Regions from separate parts of the Homo sapiens genome. Here all the other regions are linked to region 4. The links are contacts of gene promoters, found by promoter capture Hi-C in blood cells and fetal thymus (Javierre and others, 2016). All regions are on one chromosome and are shown on one strand. Each heading gives the region's core, a stretch centred on a gene start or on the middle of the fragment in contact. The rest is flanking DNA. Distances are from core to core; before and after follow the strand shown.

Region 1 (2,700 bases), core at 137-2,636, 360 kb after region 4:
AAAGTAAACAGAGACACACACGAGCAGGAGATTGCACAGCCTGCTCCCAGGCAAAGGTAGACACATTCTTCTAGTGGGTGGGGAAGTGGATACACCCTCCCAGCCCCTTCCGGCTGTGCTGGAAGCTCTGGCTGCTTGCTGGCTCGCCCCAGTGGCAAGAAGCTGATGCAAAACAACCCTTGCACATTACCATGAGACTAGGCGAGGCGAGACTCAGTTTCCCAGGAGCACCCCAGCAGACTGGGGCCTCAGGCCTACCCCAAGTCCATTCCTGCAGGTGTCCACTGGCCAGCAGTCATGGCGACAATGAGAGGGCCACCTAGTGCAGAAATACAGACCAGGCCATCAACGCAAAAGAAGCCAGTGAGGGCCCGTTCGCTGACCTCTCGGAGTGTAGCAGGCACCCAGGTCTTGACAGACTCCTCTATAGCACATTCCTAAGGCACCCTCCGCTCCAGTCTCCCTGAACTTCCCACAGTTCACAAACATACCGAGTTCTTTCACGACTCTGTGTCTCTGCCCAGACTAGTCTCTCAGCCCAGAAGGTCTTTTCCCACCTTGTTCCTGTAAACTACTTCCTGTTCATCCTTTAAAAGACGCTCCTGAGAAAACCTCCTCAGATACCCCAAGCCAGATCAGCTGTCCTGTCTCCTGTGTTCTTCCTTCCTGGTTCTCTGGAACAGCATTCACCTTGTGATACACTGACTTTTTTTTTTTTTAAGCTGTCTGTTCTCTCTCTCTCTTAAACCAAGAACTCCTCAAGAGCAAGGCCTGTGACTGATTCCGTTTTATATTTTAGGGCCCTTTCCCAGACCAGGAGCACACTAGATGTTCCCCAGGCAAGTATTAAAGAACTGAATAGATGAAGAGCAAGGAACATCATCAAAAAACAGCAAATAGGGTGGTGACTGTTGTTTCCCCAAAGCAAGCAGAGCCTGAGACAAAGCTTATATGAAGTTTATTTAGGAAATGCTGGGCATGGTGGCTCTCACCTGTAATCCCAGCACTTTCAGAGGCCAAGGTGGGCAGATCACCTGAGGTCAGGAGCTCGAGACCAGCCTGGCAAAGTTATACACATTCTTATGGTGTATACTACATGGTGAAACCCCCATCTCTACTAAAAATACAAAAATTAGCCAGGCGAGGTGACATGTGCCTGTAATCCCAGCTACTCAGGAGGCTGAGGCAGGAGAATCGCTTGAACCCAGGAGGCAGAGGTTGCAGGGAGCCGAGATCACACCACTGCACTCCAGCCTGGGCAACAGAGCGAGGCTCCCTCTAAAAAAAAAAAAAAAAAAAAAAAAAAAAGACATTTATTTAGGAAAGTGATTCCAGGCAACAGACTGAAGGACTGAAGAGGGGAGTAGGGGAGGAAAGAAAGCCAGCACAGGTGCATTATCCGCCGGTCACTGCCTTAGGTAACTGAGGCTCAATCCCGCTAGGGGCTTCTGAGGCACTGTGTAGAAGGACCTCAGAATTGTCCACTGAGAGAGAGAAGAGGGAGGTCTTCACCCTCCAGTTCCCATCCCCAGCTCATCAAAGGGTACCCCCTATCACGGTAAGTACCCTGCAAGTCCAGAAGGCAACCAGGAGGCAAATGTGTCCTGTGCCACGCTGCAGGATCCAGGAAACGTCAGGCAGCCAAAGCCAGAGCCATCAGCCACACCTGCACAAAACTGGTTGCTACAGCAGTGGCTGAAGTTGCAGCTGGGCCAACAGGATGTGCAGCATCCATTCAGGTCTGTGTAAGAGTAGGCGAAGTTAAAGCTAGAAAAGTCGCGTTAAGATTATATTGTAGAGGGCCTTAAACATCAGCCCAAAGCTTTATTTGCCACTAAGGATTTCCACACAATGCAGTAATATAAATAGCAGTACCAAGGGGGTGATTTGAGTTCCTTTCAGTCGCCTCCCTCAATAAACCCAATCTGCCATTCTCCAAAAAAAACAAAACAAAACAAAACAAAATATTATCTTAGTAAAAACAATGCAAGTCACCTCCTGCTCCTCTCATTAATCAGTTGCCATGCTTAAGCCACTCTATAGAAATACTAAGCACCCAGTCAGGTGCAACTGTCTCTCTTACCCTTCTATGAGGAAACTCCAATAAATAAATTGTTTTAATGTTTAGATCTCTGTGTCCATCTTTAAGATAAAAAAAAAAAAGGCGAAGCTTAGGAACCTTTAAGGAAGAAACCAGTCAAGGTGGCTCATGCCTGTAATCCTAGCACTTTGGGAAACCAAGGCAGGAGGATTGCTTGAGTCCAGAAATTTGAGACCAGCCTAGGCAGCATAGCATAGACCCTGGAAAGAAAAGAAAAGAGAAAGAAAAAAGAGAAGAGAAAAGAAAAGAAAAGGAAGCAGGGGGAGAGAGAGAGAGAAAGAGAAAGAAGATAGGAAGGAAGGAAGGAAGAAAGGAAGGAAGGAAAGAAGGAAGGAGAGAAGGAAAGAAAGAAAGAAAGAAAGAAAGAAAGAAAGAAAGAAAGAAAGAAAGAAAGAAAGAAAGAAAGAAAGAGAAAGAAAGAAAAAGAAAGAAAGACAAACCAGTCAAGAGGGCCCTCCTTGTTCAATCCATAAGGAGTCTTCAGATGATAGGGAAGTTCCATTCTAATTTCCAAAAAGACTTAGAGGAATTATTCTCTGATTTGCCACTATTCAGAACAGTCTGGGAAGCATTTCCCTATCTCCTCCTGACTCTGGTGG
Region 2 (2,700 bases), core at 123-2,622, 380 kb after region 4:
GGTTGCAGGGAGCCGATATGGTGCCACTGCACTCCAGCCTGGGTGACAGAGCGAGACTCCGTCTCAAAATAAATATAATATAATATAATATAATATAATATAATATAATATAATATAATATAATATATAAAATTGGCCAGGCGTGGTGACACACATTTGTTGTCCTTGCCACTTGGGAGACCGAGGTGGGAGGATCACTGGAGCCCAAGAGTTCAGGGCTGAAGTGAACCATGATGCCGCCACTGCACTCCAGCCTGGGTGACAGAGTGACATCCTGTCTCTCAAAAATAAAAAATGTATATATTTTACAAAAATGTAAGTAAATACAAAGTCCCAGAAGGACGCAGGTGGTACCTAGGTGGCCAGATGCTTCAGGACTTTTCTACTCCAGGATGGATAGATGGGCCAAGTAAGAAGCAGGACCCAGATCACAGCAAGGAGCAAAATTTATGGGACGCTAAAAATGTCGCCAATCAAGATTAATTAATATTAATCTAACAATATTTAAGATAACTAACATTTAAGGCAATTTTAATACGCTTATTAATATTTAAAGCTATTTTAAAAATATCCGCAAACGAGGGCCCAAGGGCTGGCGCCTGATTTTGTAAATAAAGTTTCACTGGACGTTCCAGCAAGCATCTGTCTACTCAATAACCAGACTCCAGCATCCGCAATACCAAATGGCACCGTGTGTGTCCGTCGCTAGAAGCCACTTCCTCCACCCAAGTTAAAAAAAAAAAAAAAGGCCCCAAATAAGCTGAGAGACGAAGAAAAGATCGTTTCTCCGCAGGCTGCCAGGGGTTTCAGAGACGCTGAAGAGCAGGGACAGAAAGAAGTCTGCGGTGGCCCCCACCGGCCCTCGGCACCCACATTCTATCCGGCTAACCAGCTCCTGCCGCTTTAAATCCGGGAGGCTCGGTGGCGCAGGGCAAGCAGTTGCCCGGGGAGACCAACGCACAACAGAGGCTCGCGCTCGCGAGAGCCGACCGGGGCCGCGGCCAAAGAGCTGGCTGTAATCCCGCCTCCCGCCAGCCATGGCCCACTTGCGCTCGCCTAGCGGCTTCGGAGACCCGGGGAAGAAGGACCAGAAGGAGTCAGAGGAGGAGTTAGAGGAGGAGGAGGAGGAGGAAGAGGTGGAGGAGGAGGAGGAAGAGGTGGAGGAGGAGGAGGAAGAGGTGGAGGAGGAGGAGGAGGAGGTGGTGGAGGAGGAGTTGGTGGGGGAAGAGCAGGAGTTGGAGGCCCCTGAGACGTTCAGCGAAGAGTACCTCTGGAAGGTCACGGACATCGGTGACTACGACGACGACTTCCCAGACGTGCGCCCCCGCTTAGCCAGCATCGTCAGCCCTAGCCTGACCTCTACGTTCGTGCCCAGCCAGAGCGCGACCAGCACTGAAACGCCGAGCGCAAGCCCACCCTCCAGCACCTCCTCGCATAAAAGTACCGCCCCCGACCCACCCCTTCCTCGAGGGTTTCTCGTCTCCAGGGGGCACCTGGTCCACCCACTCCTGGGTGGTGCCTTCGTCGACCTGCGCGTCGTGCCTGATTTCTAAATGCATGCACCATTCCACACACCTAATCTCTCTCACGCCCTTGTCAGAGACACTGAACCCTTGGCTGAGCTGTTGTGATGAGGCACGATTTAGGATATAGGCGAAACACCATAAAAGTTGAACTTGGGCATGGCTGTATGAAGTGCTTTTTTTTTTTTAGACAAGAGTCTCGCTCTGTCGCCCAGGCTGGAGTGCAGTGGCTGCAGCCTCGACCTCCTGGGCTCAAGCCTCCCACCGCAGCCTCTCGAGTAACTGGAACTACAGGCACACGCCACCACACCCAGCTAATCTGGCGTCTCACTATGTTGCCCAGGCTGCTGGGAGTGCTCATTTTTATAACATTTTTGCGTGCATTCACACCGTGACATCTCTCTCTCTCTCTCTCTCTGTTCCCCCTCCCCTCCCTCTTCCTCCCCTCCCTCTCCCCTCCCCCTCTCTTTCTCTCTCCCTCTCTCTCTCTCTCACAGACACACACACACACACACACACACACTCATATTATTTCCAGAGAAGTGCCTTAAGGGTGCTGTACTACTGAAACAGTCCTGCAAAAAAAAAAAACAACTCTCTTTTGTGTTTAACATCCTGTGCTGAAGCCACTCCAGTCACTTCCTTGAAAAAAGAAGCAGAGAAGTCTTCTAGAGTAGGCTTCTCAAGCTCTAGTGTTGACATTTTGGTCTGGATAATTCTTTGTTGGGGAGGATTGGGGACTGTCCTGTGAATTACAGGATATTTGGCAGCATCCCTGTCCTCTACCCGTGGCTGTGCTAGAAGCACACATCCTTGCGATGATCAAAAATGTCTCCAGGCCGGGCGCGGTGGCTCACGCCTGTGATCCCAGCACTTTGGGAGGCCTAGGCGGGCAGATCACGAGGTCGGGAGATCGAGACCATTCTGGCTAACATGGTGAAACCCCGTCTCTACTAAAAATACAAAAAATTAGCCGGGCGTGGCGGCGTGCGCCTGTAGTCCCAGCTACTTGGGAGGCTGAGGCAGGAGAATAGCGTGAACCCGGGAGGTGGAGCTTGCAGTGAGCCAAGATCGCGCCATTGCACTCCAGCCTAGGCGACAGAGCGAGACTCCGTCTCAAAAAAAAAAAAAAAAAAAAAAAAGTCTCCAGACATTGCCATGTGTTCCTGGGGGGGGT
Region 3 (2,700 bases), core at 101-2,600, 330 kb after region 4:
TATACAAATGAGAGATGAATCTGCTTGACTTCTAAGGACCTGTAGCTTCTAGCATTCTATGAAAAGAAGGGAGGCTATCTGGAATGTTATTGGATGCCCTCTATCTGCCAGTTACTTTGCAGGGGTCAGCTTTTACTAGTTTGCCTTTTTTTTTTTTCAGATGAGGAAACTCATGCCTACAGAGTGGTTAAATGTGAAGTGACTTGTCAAATCACACAGCTAGTAAGAGGACCAGTCCAAGCACCTGCATCTCAAAGGCACAGATGTTTTGTCCTACACCTTACTACGTAGGGATTTCGAATCTGAGTGTATACTCAAGATTCTGAATCATAACTCAAGGTTGACACCAGTAACAAAACCGTCTGGTTGGATGAGTTCACCAGATGGGCCTCTTATGGGACCATCCCAAAATGACAACATACATACTCACTATGAAATTCATTGGCAGGAATTTTGTAGGGCATGTAGGGTAGGAAGATGGGAGGGTGGGGGAAACCTACAAACCTAGTATTTTGTGGGGTATCATCACAGCTCTGGACTGCTTCAGTTGGCAAAAAAATGGATGTATTGCCAAATAACTATCCCACTTAGGTTTAGGGTAATTAATTAAAGGCTAGAGTGTTGCCAGCACCTTTGATATGGGGAACCGGATGCATTATTAGCTCAGATCTTTGGGTGTGGTGACTCATGCCTGTAATCCCAGCACTTTGGGAGGCAGAGGTGAGCAGATCACCTGAGGTCAGGAGTTCGAGACCAGCCTGGACAACATAGTGAAACCCTGTCTCTACTAAAAATACAAAAATTAGGGCCAGGCGCAGTGGCTCACGTCTGTAATCCCAGCACTTTGGGAGGCTGAGGTGGGTGGATCACCTGAGGTCAGGAGTTTGAGACCAGCCTGACCAACATGGAGAAACCCCGTTTCTACTAAAAATACAAAAAAGTTAGCTGGGCATGGTGGCACATGCCTGTAATATCAGCTACTCAGGAGACTGAGGCAGGAGAATTGCTTGAACCCGGGAGGCAGAGGTTGCAGTGAGCCAAGATCACGTCATTGCATTCCAGCCTGGGCAACAAGAGTGAAACTCAGTCTCATTAAAAAAAAAAAAAAAAAAAATAGCCAGGTGTGGTGGCAGGCACCTGTAATCCCAGCTACTCAGGAGGCTGCGGCAGGAGAATCGCTTGAACCCAGGAGGTGGAGGTTGCAGTGAGCTGAGATTGTGCCACTGCACTCCAGCCTGGGTGACAGAGCAAGACTCTGTGTCAAAAAAAAAAAAAAAAAAATGGAATGTCTAATAGTGTATGGCTTTCTTCCGCTTGGGGTATTTTTTAATCCATTCTGTGGCTTGTTCCATGCCTGAGAACTTTTGACATCCTGTGCCCAGACTTAAACTCACCCCTTCAGTGTGTGGGTTTAGGGGGAGAAGTGAAGGTTGACACATTCATATCAACAACATAGTCTACTTTACCATCCAACGATGTATTTTGATATCAGCCAAGTATTTCTCTCTACAACTGTGAGCAATGCTAATCCACTCCAGCCTTCTTACACTGTAATGATACCTTTTCTTTGTCCTCTCTGAAAGTTTCTAGTAGCATATCTCCAAATAATTATTGAATTTGAAAGCCTCAGCTGGACAAGTCTTCTCTGTGGTTGAATTGTGACAATGTCTGTGTTCCTTAAAAAAATAAAAAATAACATAAAACCAAGTAAGGTTAGACAAAACAGTTGAAAGTTTAAAATCCCTTGGCCTCATCTAGTTCAGTGGAGACAAACTTTCTAAATGGGAGGAGGGCCATGTAATGAGAGGAGAGGAGAGGAGAGAAGTATTTGATGCACTCATGGCCTCAGGGTCAGGGAGACCTGGAGGAGCAGTGGAGATGGTGGAGAGCCAGAGAACAGGTGCCACCTCCCAAGAGGCAGCCTTTACTCACCTCTGGCTGATTGGTGGGGTTGGGGATGTGGGTACAGGCATATCAGACCTTTAGATTTTTTTCAAGAAAAGCCAGAAATCTGGATCTTTTTTTTTTCCTTTAAGAGATGTCATCTCACTATGTTGCCCAGGCTGGTCTTGATACTCCTGAGCTCAAGCAATCCTCCTATCTCGGCCCCCCAAAGTGCTGGGATTACAAGTGTGAGCCACCGTGCCCAGCCTGGATTTTTTTTTTATGTTAAATATCTCGATTTTTTTTCTAGCATTGGCTGACTTCACATGTATAACCACCACTTGCAGACAAAGCGAACCACCACGTCTCCAGGCCAAATTCCAGCTGCCAGCATGCAGCCTCTGATCTGATTCTCTTGTAGAAGCATTCCTTGAGCCTGGAAGTTCTCATTTAACTCTTGCCATACATGAACTTTGGAACTCTGTTAGGCCCTAACTGTTGGTGATTTTGTAGCTTGTTTTCTTTTCATCTTCATTTTGCCAAGAGAATATTATTTTCTGGCCATCAGGAACCCTCAGATGATGGCCTTGTGACTAGATGTTTGACTCTATACAGGTCAGTTTCTTTTTTGCACCTGAGGGTCTTTAAGAGAAGGGATTGGACTAAATGATTATCCCAAGGTTCTTTCTTACCCTAAAATTTTAAAATATAGTAAGCGGTCCCAGTGAAAAGAACGTGAGCCAGGAAACAGAAGACCTGGGTTCTCGTCCTGGCTTTGTGTGACTTTGGTCCAGTCACATACTTCCCTGACCCTGT
Region 4 (2,700 bases), core at 152-2,651:
CGCGGCCCCGGTTGCCGGGGAGGCCGCCGGCGCCCTTACCTCCTTCTGCTTGGGGTCCTGTGGGTAGACGTCGGGCGGCCCGAGCCGGGGGCGCTTCAGCGGTCTCTGCTCATAGCTGAGAAGCCCGAAGGCGGCCATGATCTCTCATGTTAACCGGCGAAATGAATGAGAGTTGGAGCTGGAGCAGCCGCCTCTGAGCACCAGGGAGCAGCACTTTGCAGACAGACTCCCTCTCTCCCCCTCCTCGCTCGCTCGCTCGCTGTGGCGCTGCAGGCAGGAGGAATAAAGCAGGTTGGATGCTGCCGCTGCCCGGCAGCAGACACGCACTGATGGGGACAGCCTTCGGCGGGTACTCGGCTGCGCTCGAGCCCCGGGACGCACCGCTCCGGTGGCGGCGGCGGAGGGACTAGAGGTCGGCCAGGGTCCTCCGCGGCGCCTGCCTCCTCTGCTCCCCCCTACCTTGTCTCCAGGGGGAGGAGCAGCTGATGGGAACGTGTGACTTTTTTCACCAATGGACCCAAACCCACCCCAGCTGGGCGCAGGATGGGGGTGGGGGTGGGGCACTGGAAAAAAAAAAAAAAAAACTTTTCTTGGCGCCTAGGCTGGTGGCTGAAGTGCTCGCCCAAGGCGAGGGTGGCCCTCCCCTCCCGGGAAGAAGCTGTGGAGCGGACCGCCCCCGCCTCTCTTCCCCGGCAGGGACCCTTCCCCCGCCGCCACGCGCCCCGCAGACCCCGCCACCTGGACACGGACCGGGCCAGTGCAGGCAGAGGCAGGTCTGGAGGGGGCGCGAGACGCAGGGATGCGGCCGGTGGGAAGCGGCCGGTGCCTCCTAGACGCCCGCCAGGTTCCAGTGGCGCATCCGCAGCTACGGTCCCCTCGGCGGCTCCGGGCAGGCGCCGAGGCGCGCTGCTGGCGGTCGCGGCGGCTGGAGGGGGCCGTGCTCACGGTGGCGTGGGGCCGACTTAACCCTTTACAGTCCCTCCAGGGGCTGGGGAAGGGGGTGAGGAGCGATGGCTGTGAGCGCCGACGGGGGCAGCCAGCCCGCAGGCGTCTCGGGCTCCTCCAGCCCGCCGCCTCCCCACGGCCCCAGCTCCTCTTCCCTTCCGCCCCCAACCCCCAACACTTTACCTGTTGGTCCGCGGCTAGCGGGCTGGGGCTGGCGGCGGCGGGGTCACTCCGGCCGCCGCAGCCTCCATCATTCGGGTTGGGATGGGGGACTTGGATTTGATTTTATTTGTGCGGTATCTGCCTCGCCCGGACGAGCTCCGGGAACGCCGCGAAGTTTGCCACTGTCTGGGGGCGGCGAGCGACGCCGGCTCGCCGCCGGCGTTCTCGCCCCCACGGCCCGGGAGCGCGAGCTTCCGAGTTGGCGGACGGCGGCGCGGCGTCCGCACTGAGCATGCCCAGCTCGGCGGCCGGACCGCGGAGGAGTTGGCTGAGAGCGCGGTGAGCGCGCTCCAATCCGCCTCTCCGGGTTTTCGCAGCCGCAGAGCGCGCAGCCCGCGGGCCCCGGCGCCGAGGCTGGCCCTGGGGTGAACCTGGGCGAGGGAGGGAGCGCCCTCTGGAGCCCTGCTCCAAGCCCCCCGCTGCACCCTCCGCCTCGACCTCCCCAGAGGTCGCGGTCCCCGTGGCCTGGGCCGAAAACCTCACCTGCGCCGGGAGCGTGGAAGGGGCGGGGGGGGTGATCCTCCAGGGCAGACCTTGGTCATCCAACCCGCCCTCGCTCCTCGCTTCGGGGCGCGGGCACCAAGATGCTGGGCCACCTGGCGCGAGCTCTGCGAGACCGGAGCCGCGGAGGCGGGCTCGGCCTGTCCTGAGGGACCCCGCGGGAGGCGTGCCCGGGAGAATGCGCCCGCACTTGGCCAAGAATGATGGCTGCCATTTATGGAGCCTTCGCTACGTGCCAGGATCTTGATAGTCAGAATCTCTGGTCCTTACAACCTTCCACGGTCTTACTGTACCCTTTTTATGGATGGAGAAATTGAGCCAGCTCAGAGAGGACCACTCACTTGCCGAAAGCCACGAAACGAGTCGGAATTTGAACCCACGACTGATTCTAAGTTTCTGACCTGTTTTCCCTGACTTGGACTTGGAGGGACTGGGTTCCTAACCTGTCCTTGCCTGATGGACTCACGTTCTCCACGGCTTGAGGCATTCTCGGCCTTCCCTCTCTGTAAGGTGGTAAAGGCAGATTCTAACCGGAAGCCTTTGATACATAGTAGGTGCTCTGGAAATGCTGGTTGAATCTGAACATCAACTTTGATGTTCGTTGACATTTAAGCAAAGGGGGAAGAAGGAGATAAATAAAGTGAAGGTAATGTGGTAGAGGCTAGTTCCTCACTCCTGATCCTGACCTGTGAGCACCTCCAAACCCAGTTTGAGGCTGAGTCAGGTGTTTAGCTTTTGGCTTCCTTAATCTGAACAATTACTTCTAGAGAGCATTTACCTAACTTCACTGGAGGGCATTTCCTGACCACCTTCCCCATCTTGCCCCAGGGTCTTCTCTTCCACTAATATCCTGGGATTAATTTCATGGCTGGACTTGCCCTTGTGATACAGGCATCTATCAAATGTAGCTCCCTTGTTTGAAAGAAAGGACAGTTTTTTGTTGTTGTTGTTTTCTTTGTTTGGTTGGTTGGTTGTTTTTTGAGACAGAGCCTCGCTCTGTCGCCCAGGCTGGAGTGCAGTGGCGAGATCTCG
Region 5 (2,700 bases), core at 28-2,527, 300 kb after region 4:
TCAATTTTCCCCTCCTCCATGTGAACAGCCCATCACTACCATCTGATAGTAACTGATTTAGGAACATAGGCTTAAACCATCAGTAGCTGGTATTCCCAGGGCTGGTCTAGGGATGGGCGTATGATCCAATTTGGCCTAATCAGACTTCAGGGAATGCCTTATTTCATGGGTGGAGGAGAGGTTTTCTTTTCCTTCCTGTGGATGTAAACAAGAACACTTATTGCCCCAGTCACTGCTGCCCATCATCTTGCAACCATAGGGGTAAGTCAGCTTGAGGACGCTCCATGTGGAGGAGAGGAAAGCTGAAAGAGGAGTGGGAAATAGAGCTAGACCCCTCACTGAAGCACATCTGGCTCCCCCTGTCTCTCCAAGTGCAACATGTGCTATGATCAAGATGTGTTCCATCTAGAGGCTCTAGGAAAAGATTTGTTTTATTTCCTTTCTCAGCTTCTAAAGGCCCTCTGCATTCCTTAGCTTGTGGCCTCTTTCTCCATCTTCAGAGCTGGCAATGTTGCAACTCTGAACATTCTTTCATAATCACATCTCCTTCTGACTACAACTGGGAAAGGATTTCTTCTTTTAAAGATCCATGTGATTAGATTGAACTCACACCAATAATGAATACTGTCCCTATCTCAAAGCCCTTAACCAAATCACATCTGCAAAGTTCCTTTGCCAGTAAGATAATGTATTCACAAATTTCAGAGACTTAGGACTTAGACAGCTTTGGGCGGGTGTTATTCTGCCTACCATACCACCTCATAGTTCCTTCAGGCTCAGATCCACACTTTGTAGTTATATATTTCCAAACTCTAGATAGAGGTCAAGAAAGTCAGGAAAAAAGCATTTCCACAAGAATAAAAAGAAAAAAACTAAGTGGATTCAGCAATGTGTTCCATTTGATGGGTAACAGTCTCTCCCTGGATTAAATAATAACTGTTGAAAAGGTCCTACAGGCTAATGTTAGCTAAAAGAGGGCTGAACAAAGCCCAAATTAAACTGCGTAAATTCCCTGAGGTCTCTGGAGAGTTTTCTGTATAAAAGGAAGGTCACAGGTGATATTGTATTTCTTATAACCCCAAGGACACAATAACTTTTATGTCAAACTGGAAATGAAATAAAATGCTGGCTTCTGAAAATTCATCAGATCAAGGAGAACATCTTGACTGGACAATGAGAAAATTTATAACTCTTCAGTCACCTCCTCGATCCTTTTAACTCTGGGGATTGCCATTGAATAGCTAACTCAGTCATGGAAATTAACTTATCCAGTCAAAAGGAAATTGTCTGCCTAAGGATGAACACAGAGGATCTGGCTACAACTAAAAACTCTTGCTCTCCTAGCTTGGCTACTCAATAGAAAAGGAAAGGGAAGTGTGAAAACATCAAATAGAAGAAGCAGTAATGAATTTTGCCAGCTACCTTTTTTTTCAATAGTGAGCAGTGCCGAGAATGAACATAAGGAATCAGTGCTCAGCAGACCTGGATTGTAGCCCCGCTGGGACATTAACTAGTTGTTAAGACTTTGGTCAAATGCCTTAACCTTCTGGGGACCATGTTTCCTTGTCCTTTTTTAAAAAATTTTAAAAATATTGACATGCATTTTTTAAGATGCATTAAAGAAAAAATTCATAATACTTCCACCACATAACACACACATATGCACACACACACACACACACACACACACACCCCTACTTCCTCTTATTCCACCCTCCAAGGGTGGAACGTCTAGTGAGTATCCCCTCGATACCTTTCTCCATGCTCGCATGCAAGCAGATATTCCTAAAGAGTTTGAATTTTTTGTTCTTACAAAAACTGAATCATACTATGTTTAAGACTCCACAATTTCTTTTTTTTTTTCATTCAACTTACTATGGTGATCCTCTAGAACAATTCATATAGATCTAATTCATTCCTACACACTAATTTAAATTGGAATTATGAATATACCAAATTACATTTATACCAAAATATATCCTATTGAAGTACAGTTCAGTTGTATCTCAATTTTGTTTTGTTTTGCTACTAAAAAATGTGCAAAAATCATCTCAATTACGTATTTCTATGTTCTACAGCTTTCATATCTGAAAAATATACTCCTCAAAATGAGATTTGGGGCAAAAAATATTTTTAAAAATTTTAATAAATATTACTATACTATCTCCCCAAGAGCAGTAATAATTTTCAGTCCTACCTTCAGTATATGAGAAGGCCTGTTTTCCCTCTATTAGCACTGTATGTCATTAATCTTTTTAGTTTTTGCCACTTGATAAGGAAAAAATGGTATCTTGTGTTGTTTAATTTGCAATTTTGAATGCTAGTAAGGTTGTTCATCTCATTTCTTAGTAAACTTTAGTTGCTAATTTAGGTTTTTACTCTGTACAGACACTATTCTTATGAGAAAAATGGAGGCATATTTTGGACTAAATCTCTAGCAAAATCACCGTAACTGTTATCTGGAATACCAGTTTAGCCAGAAACCAATCAGTACCTGAAAGCAGTCTGTAGCTTGGCTGTTGTATAACACCTCAACCCCATTTTAAGGAAGATCTTCAAAAAACTTCTGGAGAAGTCTAAATTGCAAACGATGATCACCACCACAGAGGCAGGAGTAATGGATGCCAAGTTCAACATAAACTTGTCTTTGACACCAAGGCATTGCCAAACCAGGAATGATGGCAAAGCTAATAGTGACTT

What was found. The method cuts DNA at HindIII sites, captures the fragments that hold promoters and counts their contacts. A CHiCAGO score of 5 or more calls a contact.
Region 1: a fragment that was not itself captured here is called in contact with the fragment with the promoter of MED12L in region 4 in 1 of 17 cell types (megakaryocytes); the score reaches 6.1 in megakaryocytes.
Region 2: a contact is called between the fragment with the promoter of ERICH6-AS1 here and the fragment with the promoter of MED12L in region 4, in 1 of 17 cell types (fetal thymus). The highest score is 5.9, in fetal thymus.
Region 3: a contact is called between a fragment that was not itself captured here and the fragment with the promoter of MED12L in region 4, in 1 of 17 cell types (megakaryocytes). The highest score is 6.0, in megakaryocytes.
Region 5: a fragment that was not itself captured here is called in contact with the fragment with the promoter of MED12L in region 4 in 2 of 17 cell types (megakaryocytes and M1 macrophages); the score reaches 9.5 in megakaryocytes.

The regions. Positions count from the first base shown.
Region 1 is chr3:150,723,125-150,725,824 of GRCh38, reverse strand. No RefSeq gene overlaps it. Among named protein-coding and RNA genes, the nearest start is that of ERICH6, 21 kb to the right of the region's middle. RefSeq lists enhancers at 1-169, 170-671. The HindIII fragment of the contact is 876 bases long and covers 949-1,824 here.
Region 2 is chr3:150,702,236-150,704,935 of GRCh38, reverse strand. It overlaps ERICH6-AS1 (ERICH6 antisense RNA 1), which reads right to left and starts at 1,372. Exons shown (of 3, transcript NR_121675.1): 1 at 1,269-1,372. ERICH6 (glutamate rich 6) reads left to right here and starts at 1,016. Exons shown (of 14, transcript NM_152394.5): 1 at 1,016-1,440. The coding sequence starts at 1,038. RefSeq lists enhancers at 821-910, 1,061-1,140. The HindIII fragment of the contact is 4,487 bases long and covers 1-2,700 here.
Region 3 is chr3:150,757,151-150,759,850 of GRCh38, reverse strand. The region is part of intron 1 of SIAH2 (siah E3 ubiquitin protein ligase 2); the gene reads left to right. Among named protein-coding and RNA genes, the nearest start is that of SIAH2-AS1, 3.4 kb to the left of the region's middle. RefSeq lists an enhancer at 362-421. The HindIII fragment of the contact is 3,606 bases long and covers 1-2,700 here.
Region 4 is chr3:151,084,365-151,087,064 of GRCh38, reverse strand. MED12L (mediator complex subunit 12L) reads right to left here and starts at 1,401. Exons shown (of 45, transcript NM_001393769.1): 1 at 1,129-1,401; 2 at 40-267. The coding sequence starts at 138. RefSeq lists silencers at 649-943, 1,380-1,749. The HindIII fragment of the contact is 3,991 bases long and covers 1-2,700 here.
Region 5 is chr3:150,788,646-150,791,345 of GRCh38, reverse strand. No RefSeq gene overlaps it. Among named protein-coding and RNA genes, the nearest start is that of SIAH2, 27 kb to the right of the region's middle. The HindIII fragment of the contact is 3,952 bases long and covers 1-2,700 here.